Linked DNA regions of Homo sapiens: region 1 is linked to region 2. Evidence: promoter capture Hi-C in 16 types of primary human blood cells and fetal thymus (Javierre and others, 2016). All regions are on one chromosome and are shown on one strand. Each heading gives the region's core, a stretch centred on a gene start or on the middle of the fragment in contact. The rest is flanking DNA. Distances are from core to core; before and after follow the strand shown. Region 1 overlaps MICU2 (mitochondrial calcium uptake 2). Region 2 holds the start of LATS2 (large tumor suppressor kinase 2).

Evidence for each region. Contacts are between HindIII fragments. The CHiCAGO score rates a contact against its expected background, and 5 or more counts as called.
Region 1: a fragment that was not itself captured here is called in contact with the fragment with the promoter of LATS2 in region 2 in 1 of 17 cell types (total B cells); the score reaches 5.5 in total B cells.

What each region holds. Positions count from the first base shown.
Region 1 is chr13:21,496,830-21,503,382 of GRCh38, reverse strand. MICU2 (mitochondrial calcium uptake 2) reads left to right here. Exons shown (of 12, transcript NM_152726.3): 9 at 286-457. Among named protein-coding and RNA genes, the nearest start is that of ZDHHC20, 41 kb to the right of the region's middle. The HindIII fragment of the contact is 9,764 bases long and covers 1-6,553 here.
Region 2 is chr13:21,057,052-21,063,099 of GRCh38, reverse strand. It overlaps LATS2 (large tumor suppressor kinase 2), which reads left to right and starts at 1,514. Exons shown (of 8, transcript NM_014572.3): 1 at 1,514-1,754. RefSeq lists silencers at 1,300-2,099, 2,240-2,649 and an enhancer at 2,155-3,047. The HindIII fragment of the contact is 13,546 bases long and covers 1-6,048 here.

The DNA of each region.
Region 1 (6,553 bases), core at 3,433-5,932, 440 kb before region 2:
ATTTTTTTAAGTCTTTAGGTTTATCAGAATGTAGGTTGCCAGGTATAACTTACACAAACAAGTTGAGTATAGAGAGTTACTGATGGAAGCCAGTGTTGGACTTAATCAGTTTCTCTGCATCCTTCCTCTCCCCACAATCCTTGCACAGCACTAATGCTTCATCCTGCTTACCATCAGGAGGCAGCCACTCAGTAGGTAATAGTGAAGGTACTTTGCAGACCCATTTACAATATTTAAGGTTGAATGCCACTAGTTACCTTACTAATTTTGTATTTTAACATTCAGATTTATGGAAAATTTACAAACAGAGATTCAAGAAATGGAATTCCTTCAGTTTTCTAAAGGTTTGAGTTTCATGAGAAAAGAAGACTTTGCAGAGTGGCTACTTTTTTTCACTAACACTGAAAATAAAGATATTTATTGGAAAAATGTGAGAGAGAAGTTGTCAGCAGGAGAGGTTGGTATACCCTTTTATTATGCATGTGATAAAGATGAAATAATAAGTTAGACATGTTTACATAAAGTAACTTCTGAATTAACCAAGACTGTGCTACCCTCGATGGTATATAAAATCAACTTGAGGAATGTTCTCTACATGCTCTTCTCCTGTAAAGGAAAACTGCCTAAGACAGAATCAGTGTAGCAATTACAAGTTTTCCATTTCCAGTAAAGTCAAGAATAAGACAAGTATCACTACTGTTATTTAATATCACTCTGTAAATCTTAACCAGTCCAAATTAACAAGATTATTTAAAAGAGTATAAAAATGTGAAAGGGGGTAGTAGTTGTCTTTGTTTTTATATGATGCAATTATATGCCTAGAGAACCCAAGAGAATCCAGTAGAAAAACCGTAGAAACAATAAGAATTCAATAAAGTACCTGTCACAATGCTAATATATAAGCAGCAGCAGCTCTCCTATATACAAATTACAAGTAGAAAATGTAATGACATGCATATGTGTGTGTATATATATACGAGATGTATGAAATGATGATTGCCAAGCTATTAATAATTATTCATGTACAGTGGTGAGGTTTCAAGTGATTTTTACTTTCTTTCTTTATACCTTTATGTATTGTTCCAAAAAAATGTTTACAATGGACATGTATTTTATGTAACTTTTTAAAAAGTTACTTCTATTGTAAGAAAAAAATAAATTGCAGTAGAAGAACCCAGTTATAACTGCAAGATAAATATATAACAATTAGAAATAAATTTAACAAAAAAAAAGAAGAAAACTTGATAGCCTTGATGGATATAAAAAGAAAACTTATCTAATTATAAGACATCCCCTATTATTGAATAGAAAGTCTTAGAATTATAAATACAGCAATTCTGTCTTCAGTTAGTCTATAAGTGTAATGGTTATATTAGAACAGCCCAAGTTTACTGCAGTTACAAATTAACCCTGAAATCCCCCTGTCTGACACTGAGTTTCTTGCTCAGTCATGCCGCAGTTCCATTGTGGGCTGATAGGAGTCTCTGTCCGCATAGAGGTCTAGACCCATTCAGAGGTCTAGACTCTCTGAGGCTGTGCCATCTTGGAGTTACATCATCTGAAAGAAGTACCACGCTCAGAGGCTGTGGCAGGAAAAGAAGGAGGGGAGTCAAAATCCAGCAACTAAATGTTTTGGCCTGGAAACATCACATGACACTTGGCTATTGGCCAGACTAATCACATAACCCCACCTGAATGCAGGGAGGCAAGGAACTTCAGTCTTTCGTACGTGCAGGAATCAGAAAAGATCCAGATACTGGTGAATACTCGTGGGTTTCAATAAAAATACCATTGAATTATTGGGAAGAAACTAGACAAGCTATAAAACTTTATATGATCACGCCTGTAATCCTGGCACTTTGGGAGGCCAAGGCGGGCAGATCATGAGGTCAGGAGATCAAGACCATCCTGGTTAACACGGTGAAACCACGTCTCTACTAAAAATACAAAAAATTAGCCAGGCATGGTGGCAGGTGCCTGTAGTCCCAGCTACTCGGGAGGCTGAGGCAGGAGAATAGTGTGAACCCTGGAGGCAGAGCTTTCAGTGAGCTGAGATTGCGCCACTGCACTCCAGCCTGGGTGACAGAGCAAGACTCTGTGTCAAAAAAAAAAAAGACTTTATATGAAAAGAATGTCAACATATTAAAATATATTATCAAACCTTGGTAACTAAAACAGTTTGTTACTGACAATGAATTTGACAGACTCCAGAAATAGACTTAAGCATATGAAAAATTTAGTAATTATGAAATAGTATTTTAAATTAGTTGGGTAAAAGAATTATTAATAAATGGCAGTAGGATAATTCACTGGCCATCTGAGGGAGAAAATGAACATAAATCTTTACACCATTCATTACTCTAAAATAAATTTAGGATGAATCAAAAAATTAAATGTTGAAAAAATGAAACTGAGTAAGTGTAGAAGAAAACATGGAAACAATGTTTCATCTTAGGTTATATACCTTTCTAAGCAAAACCCAAAACCTTTCAAAGAAAACTTGATGAAATACCTAAAAATTAAAATCTGTTGCCTCACCTCGTCCCCTGCAAAAATTATAATGAGAGTCAAAATAAAAAGTTAACATGAAGAAGGGGGAGATATTGATATGTAAAGACCAATTTTCTTAATTTATAATGGGATCTTTAAAAATCAGTAGGGATTGGCCGGGCGTGGTGGCTCATTCCTGTAATCCCAGCACTTTGGGAGGCCAAGGTGGGTGGCTCTCTCAAGGTCAGGAGTTCGAGACTAGCCGGGCCAACATGGTGAAACCCCATCTCTACCAAAAAATACAAAAAAAAGTAGCCGGGCATGGTGCCACACACCTGTAGTCCCAGCTACTCAGGAGGCTGAGGCGGGAGAATTGGATGAACCTGGGAGACAAAGGTTGCAGTGAGCCAAGGTCACACCTGGGCAACAGTGAGACTCTGTCTCAAAAAAAAAAAAAAAAAAAAAAAAAAAAAAATCAGTAGGTATCAAGAACTTTAAACGGTCTGAGATTTTTTTTTCCCTATTTAATATATCATGAGAACTTGAAAATCAACATGTGAATAACTGTAAAGTGTCTGAAATTTTATCCCTTTGCAGGTTAGCCTGCACAGTTTCATGGATGCTTGCAGAAGATACAAGACTATTGAGTCAGACACAAAGAATTTTATTATCGTAATGTAGCAACAACATGAGTAACATATTTGTGTCAGTTCCCCCTTGCCTCCCAAGCCCCATGGGCATGATGCTGAGAGGCCCAGGTAGATGCTGCCCACACAGCAGATTCACATCACAGCTGAGGACCCTCATCTTAGTGATCTGAATGTTTTGTAATGGGCAAGTAAACAAGCCTTCCTGAGCTTTGCTGCAGTGGGAGGCATTGTGTATTCATGATACTGGACAGTAAGCAAAGCTGTCCTGTGCTCCTGAGGAACAGTGCTGTCCGCTATACAAACAATTCTCCTGCCTCAGCCTCCTGAGTAGCTGGGATTACAGGCGCATACCACCATGCCTCGCAATTTTTGTATGTTTAGTAGAGATGGGTTTCACTGTGTTGTTGGCCAGGCTGGTCCCAAACTCTCGGCCTCCCAAAGTGCTGGGATTACAGGTGTGAAATCCTCGAAGATATAATCTGGAACAAAAATGCAGTCGGTGCCTCTGATAGATGTACAGAAACGTGAGACCCAGCTGGGCACGGTGGCTCAAACTTGTAATCCCAGCACTTTGGGAGGCCGAGGCGGGCAGATCATGAGGTCAGAAGATTGAGAACATCTTGGCTAACATGGTGAAACCCCATCTCTACTAAAAATACAAAAAATTAGACAGGCGTGGTGGCGGGTGCCTGTAGTCCCAGCTACTCGGGAGGCAGAGGCAGGAGAATTGGTGTGAACCCAGGAGGTGAAGTTTGCAGGGAGCCGAGATTGTGCTACTGCACTCCAGCCTGGGTGACAGAGCGAGACTCCATCTCAAAAAAAAAAAGAAATGTGAGACCCATGGAGAACGGTCTCGCACAGTAAGTTACCTAACAACCCATTAGAAATCTGGGCAAAGGACATAAACAGGACACAAGAAGAGAAATCCACAAATGACTAATAAGCATGTGAAAAATGTTTAACTTCATTCACAATTGAAGACATGCAAATTCAGGCCGGGCCTATGGCTCCCACCTGTAATTCCAGCACTTTGGGAGGCCGAGGCAGGTGGATCACCTGAGGCCGGGAGTTTGAGACCAGCCTGGTCAACATGGTGAAACCCCGTCTCTTCTAAAAATACAAAAATTAGCGGGGCGTGGTGGCGCATGCCTGTAATCACAGCTTTTCAGGAGGCTGAGGCAGAAGAATCGCTTGAATGAGGGAGGCGGAGGTTCTGGTGAGCCAAGATCACGCCACTGCACTCCAGACTGGGCAACACAGCAAGACTCCGTAAGACATGCAAATTCAAACATTAATAAAATACCATTTTTCATCTATCAGAAAAGCAGACATCAAAAAAGTTGCATCCAGTGCCTACTTCGAGGTCATGATAGAAGCAGCCACTCTTATTTGTGCTGATAAATACACTGGTTTTTTTTTTTCCTTTTTTCCCTCTCTATCATCTTGTAAATATACTGTTAAGAGAATAAAGCAAGGTACAGAAATATGTGAAGAGATTGTTCCCATTGTGTAAAACAAGGAGACGTGTGTGTACATGTATACACTTTAATAAGAATAGAATATTAGCCAGGCGCGGTGGCTCACGCCTGTAATCCCAGCACTTTGGGAGGCTGAGGTGGGTGAATCACCTGAGGTCAGGAGTTTGAGACCAGCCTGACCAATATGGTGAAACCCCATCTCTACTGAAAATACAAAAATTAGCCGGACGTGGTGGTGGGTGCCTGCAGTCCTAGCTACTCAGGCGGCTGAGACAGGAGAATTGCTTGAACCTGGGAAGCAGAGGTTGCAGTGAGCCAAGATTGCGCCATTGCGCTTCAGCCTGGGTGACAGAGCGAGACTGTCTCAAAAAAAAAAAAAAAAAAAAAAAAAAAAAGAATAGGATATTTCTGGATGGAGACACAAGGAATTGGTAACTCATGTCTGGGGAATGGAACTGGGAATCAGAGTGGAAGAACTCTTCATCATTTATCCTTCATGTTGTTTGAATTTTTAACCATGTGCACATATTACTTTTTCAAAAACTTTATTGAAATATTTAAAAATAAAAATTTCATGAAGTCACAAAAGCTGGAAACCAGTGAACCTTGAGTAAGACCACACATTACAGAGGGCATGATCCTCAGCATCCTACAAAGAGAAACTTTTTTTTTCAGGCAGGGAAGAATTTACTTTCAAATTAAGAATTTTTAGCTGGACACAATGGCTGACACTTGTAATCCCTGCACTTTCTGAGGCTAAGGTGGGAGGATCACTTGAGCCCAGGAGTTTGAAACCAGCCTGAGAAACATAGCGAGATCTCGTCTCTACTAAAAACAGAAATAAAAACATTAGTTGGGTGTGGTGCTCTGTGTCTGTAGTCCCAGCTACTTGGGAGACTGAGGCAGGAGGATAGCTTGAACCCAGAATTTCAAGGCTGCAGTGAGCTGTGATCTGGACTCCAGCCTGGGTCACAGAGTGAAACACTATCTCAAAAACAAGATAAAAACTAAGAGAATTTTCATACTTTGTTTACTTTTGTTTTGTTTGTTTGTTTTTGAGACAGGGTCTTGCTCTGTTGCCCAGGCTGAAGTGCAGTGGTGCAGTTAGCTCACTATAACCTCAAACTCCTGTGCTCAAGGGATCCTTCTGCCTAAGCCTCCTCAGTCGCTGGGACCACAGGCACATGCCACCGTGCCTGGCTAATTTTTGTATTTTTTGTAGAGATGGGGGTTTCACCATGTTGCCCAGTCTGGTCTCCAACTCCTGAGCTCAGGCAGTCCGGCCACCTCAGCCTTCCAAAGTGCTGTGATTGCAGTCAGGAACCACCGTACCCAGCTTTTATTGTTTTAATGGAAAAAACTGAGTTTTCTTTTAACTTTTTTATTTATTTGTTTGTTTTTACACAGAGTCTCACTCCATCACCCAGGCTGGAGTGCAGTGGCGCGATCTTGGCTCACTGTAGCCTCCGCCTCACGGGTTTAAACAATTCTCCTGCCTCAGCCTTCCAAATAGCTGGGACTACAGGTGTGCACCACCACACCCAGCTAATTTTTTTTTTTTTTTCTTTTTCACCATGTTGACCAGACTGGTCTTGAACTGCTGACCTCAGGTGATCTGCCTGCCTTGGCCTCCCAAAGTGCTAGGATTAGACATGAGCCACAGCACCCAGCCCGTTTGTTTGTTTGTTTGTTATGTATTTTTTGAGACAGAGTCTCGCTCTGTCGCCCAGGCTGGAGTGCTGTGGCGTGATCTCGGCTCACTGCAAGCTCTGCCTCCTGGGTTCACACCATTCTCCTGCCTCAGCCTCCCAAGTAGCTGGGACTACAGGCGCCTGCCACCACGCCCGGCTAATTTTTTTGTTTTTGTGTTTTTAGTAGAGAAGGGATTTCATGGTGTTAGCTAGGATGGTCTCCATCTTCCGACCTCGTGATCCG
Region 2 (6,048 bases), core at 265-2,764:
GAAAAAATGTGGAAAAGTACATAGGTAATGCCAGTAGGGCTCAATTGCAGAATATTGGCTGGAGACTTATTTTGCTCCCAGTACTGTGCAAGATATCTGGGTAGCATACAGGATACTATCGAAAAATTAAATTGAATTCTAAGCTGCACGATGATGGTTTCTTTTTTTTTTTTTTGCACACTTCTGCTGGCAGGAAGGGATTACGGTTTGATTATCAGAGCCCAAAGAAGAGAGAAAACAGAGATCTGAGAAGATTCCCTGGAAGAGCTGAGGCCTTAAGAGATTGAAAGAGAGGGAGGGGAGGAGGATGAACCAGGGACTGAAGGCTGGGTGAGACTGTCAAAATAGTGCACAGATAATGACCTTTACTACTGTTTCCCATGAGAGTAAAATTTAAAAATTTCACAAGAGTTTGTCAATTAAAGAGGAAATCGAGTTGACTTTAAACACTATATTGACCCTCAGCATCACTTGCCACAGATATAGGTGGTAGGAAGTATGATGTTAGGAGAGCCAGAAGTAGACTGAGGATTTGGCTTCCAGTCTATTATTTCTACTGTGAATCTTTGCACCATCCCTGCTTCTGTCCCTGTACCAGATCCACAGTCCTCAAATGGATAGTGAAGCTGTTCAAAACCCACGACCTCACTTGCTGGTATATACGGTACTATACTATTCCCTACACCATAAAATACTTCTCAGAAAGAAAATATACATGGGGAGGGGAGGTTGATTAAATTAAATCAGGTTAAATTTGGGTGTGCATCAGACGTTCTTTTTTTTTTTTTTTTGAGACGGAGTTTTGCTCTTCTTGCCTAGGCTGGAGTGCAATGATGCGATCTCAGGTCACCGCAACCTCCGCCTCCCGGGTTCCAGTGATTCTCTTGCCTCAGCCTCCCGAAGAGCTGGGATTACAGGCATGAGCCACCACGCCTGGCTAATTTTGTATTTTTAATAGAGACGGGGGTTTCTCCAAGTTGGTCAGGCTGGTCTCGAACTCCCGACCTCAGGTGATCCACCCGCCTAGACCTCTCAAAGTGCTGGGATTACAGGCGTGAGCCACCGCTTCTGGCAAACGTCCTTCTTAATTGTTTGATTCCACTGTCCCAATAGCCGTCTGTCCTTTTCTGCCCCTATTTTTAGTGTCCAGCCACTAGTTGGTAACTTGGTGGCTCCTTCAGGCCTGCTAACTTTTTTTTTTCTTTCACCAAGACTGGTATGAGATACTTAAGAATAGTGGCTTTAACGACAGTTACCAACTTTTAATACAAATGCAGTCGAGAGGGCAAATACTCAAGTTTGGGGGCAGATAGCAGCCAGTCAAATAGGTCCGAGAGGCCCTGGCGAGCTACCGCAGGCCAGCAGGGAGGCCGTGGGCAGGTGGCGGTCGAGGCCGGAGGCAGGAAGCACGGCCGGGCGGGGCTGGGCGGAGCGGCCGCGGAGGAGCAGGGGCCGCAGGCGCCCCGCCCGGACTGGTATGCGGCCGAGAGTGACGCGGGAGGCGGGGTCACGTGACGCCCGTGGAATGCCAACAATGTAGCGAATGTCCCACTTGGGTCTGCGCTTTGGAACCGCGGCGTGAGCGCCCCGGGAAGATGGAGCAGTCGCCGTCCACGCCACCGCCGCCGCCCGGGGCTCCCCCGTCCCTGCGGGGCCAGCAGCAGCTCCAGCCACCAGTGCCCGGTCTCCCGGCGCGAGAGGCCCGGGAGCCGCCGGCCAGGACGCCCCCGAGGGTGTAGACCGCGCCCCTGGAGGTGAGGGGGCTGGGAGCTGGGGTCGGGGCGGCAGCTCGGAGGGTGGCGAGAGTTTCCGCGAAGCGGTCGAGCCCTGCGGCTCCGCGCACCTACTGTGGTGCCGAGGCTCCGGGAAGGGCGCCCGGCGGGGCGGCCGAGGAAGTTTGTCCGGACGGAGCCCTGCGCCCTGCCCCCACGGTCCGCGCCCGCCCGGAGCCGCCCCCGCCCGGCGGCTCGTAGTCCAGGCCGTACGGAGCCCGCGGAGCCGGTTCCAGAGGAGCCGGGGAAGTTGGAGGCCGGCGTCGGGCGGGGGCAGCGGGGCTGCGCCGCTTTGTTGTGCGGCGACCGGGGCGGCCGGGATCCCGGCGGGGCAGGGGCGGCGCGGGCCGGGGGCGGTGTCCTAGACCCGAAAGGCCGTAGCGCCGGGCGCGCCTCTGCTTCCGCTGTCTCCGGGGGATCGGCTTTTCACTAGACGCCCGGCCGGGCGCCCCTGACAGCCTCGGGACCCCCGGTCCGGCGGCGCAGCGGTCCCACGGATCCGGGGCCATCCTCCCGGCCGCGCCATCGTCCCACGGGCCAATCAGTCCTTCAGAGCCCGCCCTGTTGGCCCCCGCCGGCCGCCCCGTCGTCCCGCGAGCCGACGGACCCACGGCGGTGCCGCAGTCGAGGCCGCGCCGCCCCTCAGCCCCCGGTGGCTGCGCCGCCTCACCCACTGCCGCGCGGTTCCCACCCCGTTCCCCGCGGCCGCGCCGCCGGCTCACGGGCCAGTCAGCCCCTCAGAGGCCACCGGACCCTGGGGGCGCCGTTCCTCCCGGGCTGCGGGCGGCCAGGCCCTGCTCGGCGTCTCCCGGCCGGCTGCCGCGCCAACTCTGCGAGTTTGCTCACGGTCTTGGCGGGACGCGGCCCGAGGCGCAGGAGCGCTTTCGTGGCCACGCGAACGGCGGCCGTTGCATAACACGCCATTCCCGTGCCCTAGTTTAGCGACGTGTGGGGGGTTTGGCTTTCTCTTCTGATGTAAGCTCACCTGCGCTTAGCTCCCCAGCCGGACTCTGGAGATGGGGATTCTGACATCATTCACATCTTGCCATCACATCCTTCAGCCCAACTCCAGAACTTCTGGGGAGCTTTCCCTCGGGGATGGAGTGCGGCCTGGAGCAAACCCGTTTGTGAAATGCAAGTCTCCAGTGTCCCGAGGGTTGGGAACGGGGGGCGAGGCGAGGAATGGACCCTGAAGAAGGTAAAACCCACCCGACCAGGGCGCCAAGCAGCCGGTAACAGGGTCCCGAGTTAGCTCGGCGGCTGGCGGCTGTTCTGAGGCCTTTGGATGAGAAATGCTATTTTGCGAGGATCACCATGAAAGAACTTAACTTGCAGATTTTTTTGACAAAAATGTTGTTATTTTAAGACAAGATCTCGCTCTGTCTCCCAGGCTGGAGGGGAGTGGCGCGATCTCGGCTCACTGCAACCTCCGTCTCCCAGGTTCGAGCGATTCTCCTGCCTTAGCCTCCCACGTAGCTGGGATTACAGGCCCGCGCCACCAGCCCAGCTAATTTTGTATTTTTTAGTAGAGACGGGTTTCGCCGTGTTGGCCAGGCTGGCTCTCGAACTCCTGACCTCAGGTGATCCACCTGCCTCCGTCTCCCAGAGTGCTGGGATTACAGGCGTGAGCCACCGCGCCCCACCTGACAAGAATTTTGAACAAGAACTTTTACATTTTCACGCTTCTCTAGGATGGATATGAGTGTTTTTTGTTGTTGTTGTTGTTGTTTTTTGAGACGTTGTCTTGCTCTGTCGCCCAGGCTGGAGTGCAGTGGCGCGATCTCGGCTCACTGCAACCTCGCCTCCTGGGTTCAAGCGATCTCCTACCTCAGTCTCCCGAGTAGCTGGAATTACAGGCGTGTGCCACCACGCCCGGCTAATTTTTTGTATTTTTAGTAGAGACGGGGTTTCGCTGTATTAGCCAGGATGGTCTCAATCTCCTGACCTTGTGATCCGCCCGCCTCAGCCTCCCAAACTGCTGGGATTACAGGCGTAAGCCACCGCACCCAGCCAAGAGTGTTTTTAATGTAATAGCATTAAAAAAATTATTTCACCTTAACTACTAAGCCATAGAGTATACATTTGGCCGGTAAAAAATTCAAATTAATAGCTGAACAGCTCTTTTCACAAAGTATTCAACAAATACGTACATTTTTAAAGGAAAGTTTGCCCGTATTTTAATAAGAAACAAATATACTGAAATTTGAATGGGAAATCACAAAAATGTGTGTGATCTTGCACAAGTGTTTTGCTTAAAATTTTAACTTAGAAGATGAGGGGCCTTCCCTTAATCATGGAAAAAGTAACTCATGGCTGATTATTAGGAAATTTGTGCTAAATCTTGTTGTATATTTTTGGTAAGCTGCTTTGTATGTTTTTTTTTTTTCTGTAACAACCGTTGTAATAAGGTAGTAACAGAAAAAATATTCCAAAATGAGAACGTATAAACTGTTTATGACGTCTATTTAACTGTAATTAACAAGTCAGTGTCTCACAAAATTTTGTCTCATGCAGGTATAGAAGGCACTGAATATAATAATAGTGTAATGAATATACCAGCATTCCTTTGAATATAAGTTGGTGAACATTTAATAACTTTCCAAATCTCAGGCAGTTTAAGGTATCTGAGCAGAGGCTAGCCTGTCTTGCAAAATTACCAAGGTGAATTACTAGAATCATTGAATTATAGAACTGGAAGGGATTCTTCTGGCTTCTCCATCGAGTTTGAAATAGTTTAAGTGTAAATTGGAGCTGTACATGTTCCTTAGCAAATCACAGGGTTGGTGGGAGGGGCTTTCTTTTGGTGGGAGGGGAATGATTTTACAATAAGATTCCTTGTTATTTTAAATGCTATGTTGTAAATAGCCAGCCTTGGGCTCCTAAACTCCACCAAGGGGTGGGGTAGGGTGGGGATTGAAGCTGATAAATTGACCATAAACAGAGGAAGGATTTCGGGAAGCTGGGGTTAGGGGAGAGGTGTTCTTTTTTGTATTGGAAAAACCATACCAACACCATTTTCGAAAAGCTGCTTTTGTATTTTATTTTGTAGTTAAAATCTTGTGAAACTTCTGAACAGTATTTCTTACTGACTTTTTAAAAACAGTTGGTGTGAAGAAATACAGAAGGTAAATTCAAATGCATTGACTCTGTCTTGACTAAATCTGTTCTAAAAAGTACCGAAATATTCTGATGATCAGAAAGAAGGGTAAGGCTTGATTGAAGTGACTGACTTCTAGCTCTAAACATTCTCTGAATCTTCTTCCTTTTAAAAAGTCTATTGCTTAGTAATTCCTCTAGAAGGAATCGGCCTTCAAATTACACAAGTCCAGGGGCATCGTTCCCATTGTATGCTAGGTCACTGCTGCTCTCTGTAATGGGCTTTATTACATAGAGTGCCCTGTGATGGCCCCAGTGTGAGGGCAGCCCTGCTTGGGATGTTCATTTCACTGTTAGCTGTTCTCTCAGTATTTTAAGGCTAATGTTACATAATGTTACGTGATTTTTATTTTTCATTTTTTTTTTATTTTTGAGATGGAGTCTCGCTCTGTCACCCAGGCTGGAGTGCAGTGGCACAATCTTGGCTCACTGCAAGCTCCTCCTCCTGGGTTCACACCATTCTCCTGCCTCAGCCTCCTGAGTAGCTGGGACTACAGGCGCCCGCCACCATGCCCAGCTAATTTTTTTTTTTTTTTACTTTTAGTAGAGACGGGGTTTCACCGTAGTAGCCAGGATGGTCTCGATCTCCTGACCTCGTGATCCACCCGCCTACAGGCATGAGCCACCGCGCCCGGCCTGTTACGTGATTATTAGTTTTATTTTGAAAGTATGAAAACAGCAAGGTAATATTGGAAATAAAGACATTGGTTATGATGTTAAAATTAGAATGGAAATTTGGCATTGTTTAATGTTTGCCGTTCACCCTGGGAAGACTTTGTTGGTTATCATCTAGATCATGTCAAGTTAATTGTGACAAGTGTTTTAAGTTAATTCACAAATACTTTTTGTTTGTGTGACAATATTTGACATACATGGGAATTTTTCTGGGAGAAAAATGAAAAAATCCCATATTTTGTAGCCATGGTTTGTATTTCTTGTTAACACTGATTGTTAGAATCTTGTAGTGTAGTTTAGATCCTATAGACCCTTGATCAGTTAGGATGGTAAGGATCTTAAGAATGTAAGCTGGATTTTGAAAGGAGTGGGCCTCTGTTTGGAATAGTGAGCCTCCCTGCCTCTAGGCAGTTATCTTGAGCAGGAATGCTAAGGGCCAACATGG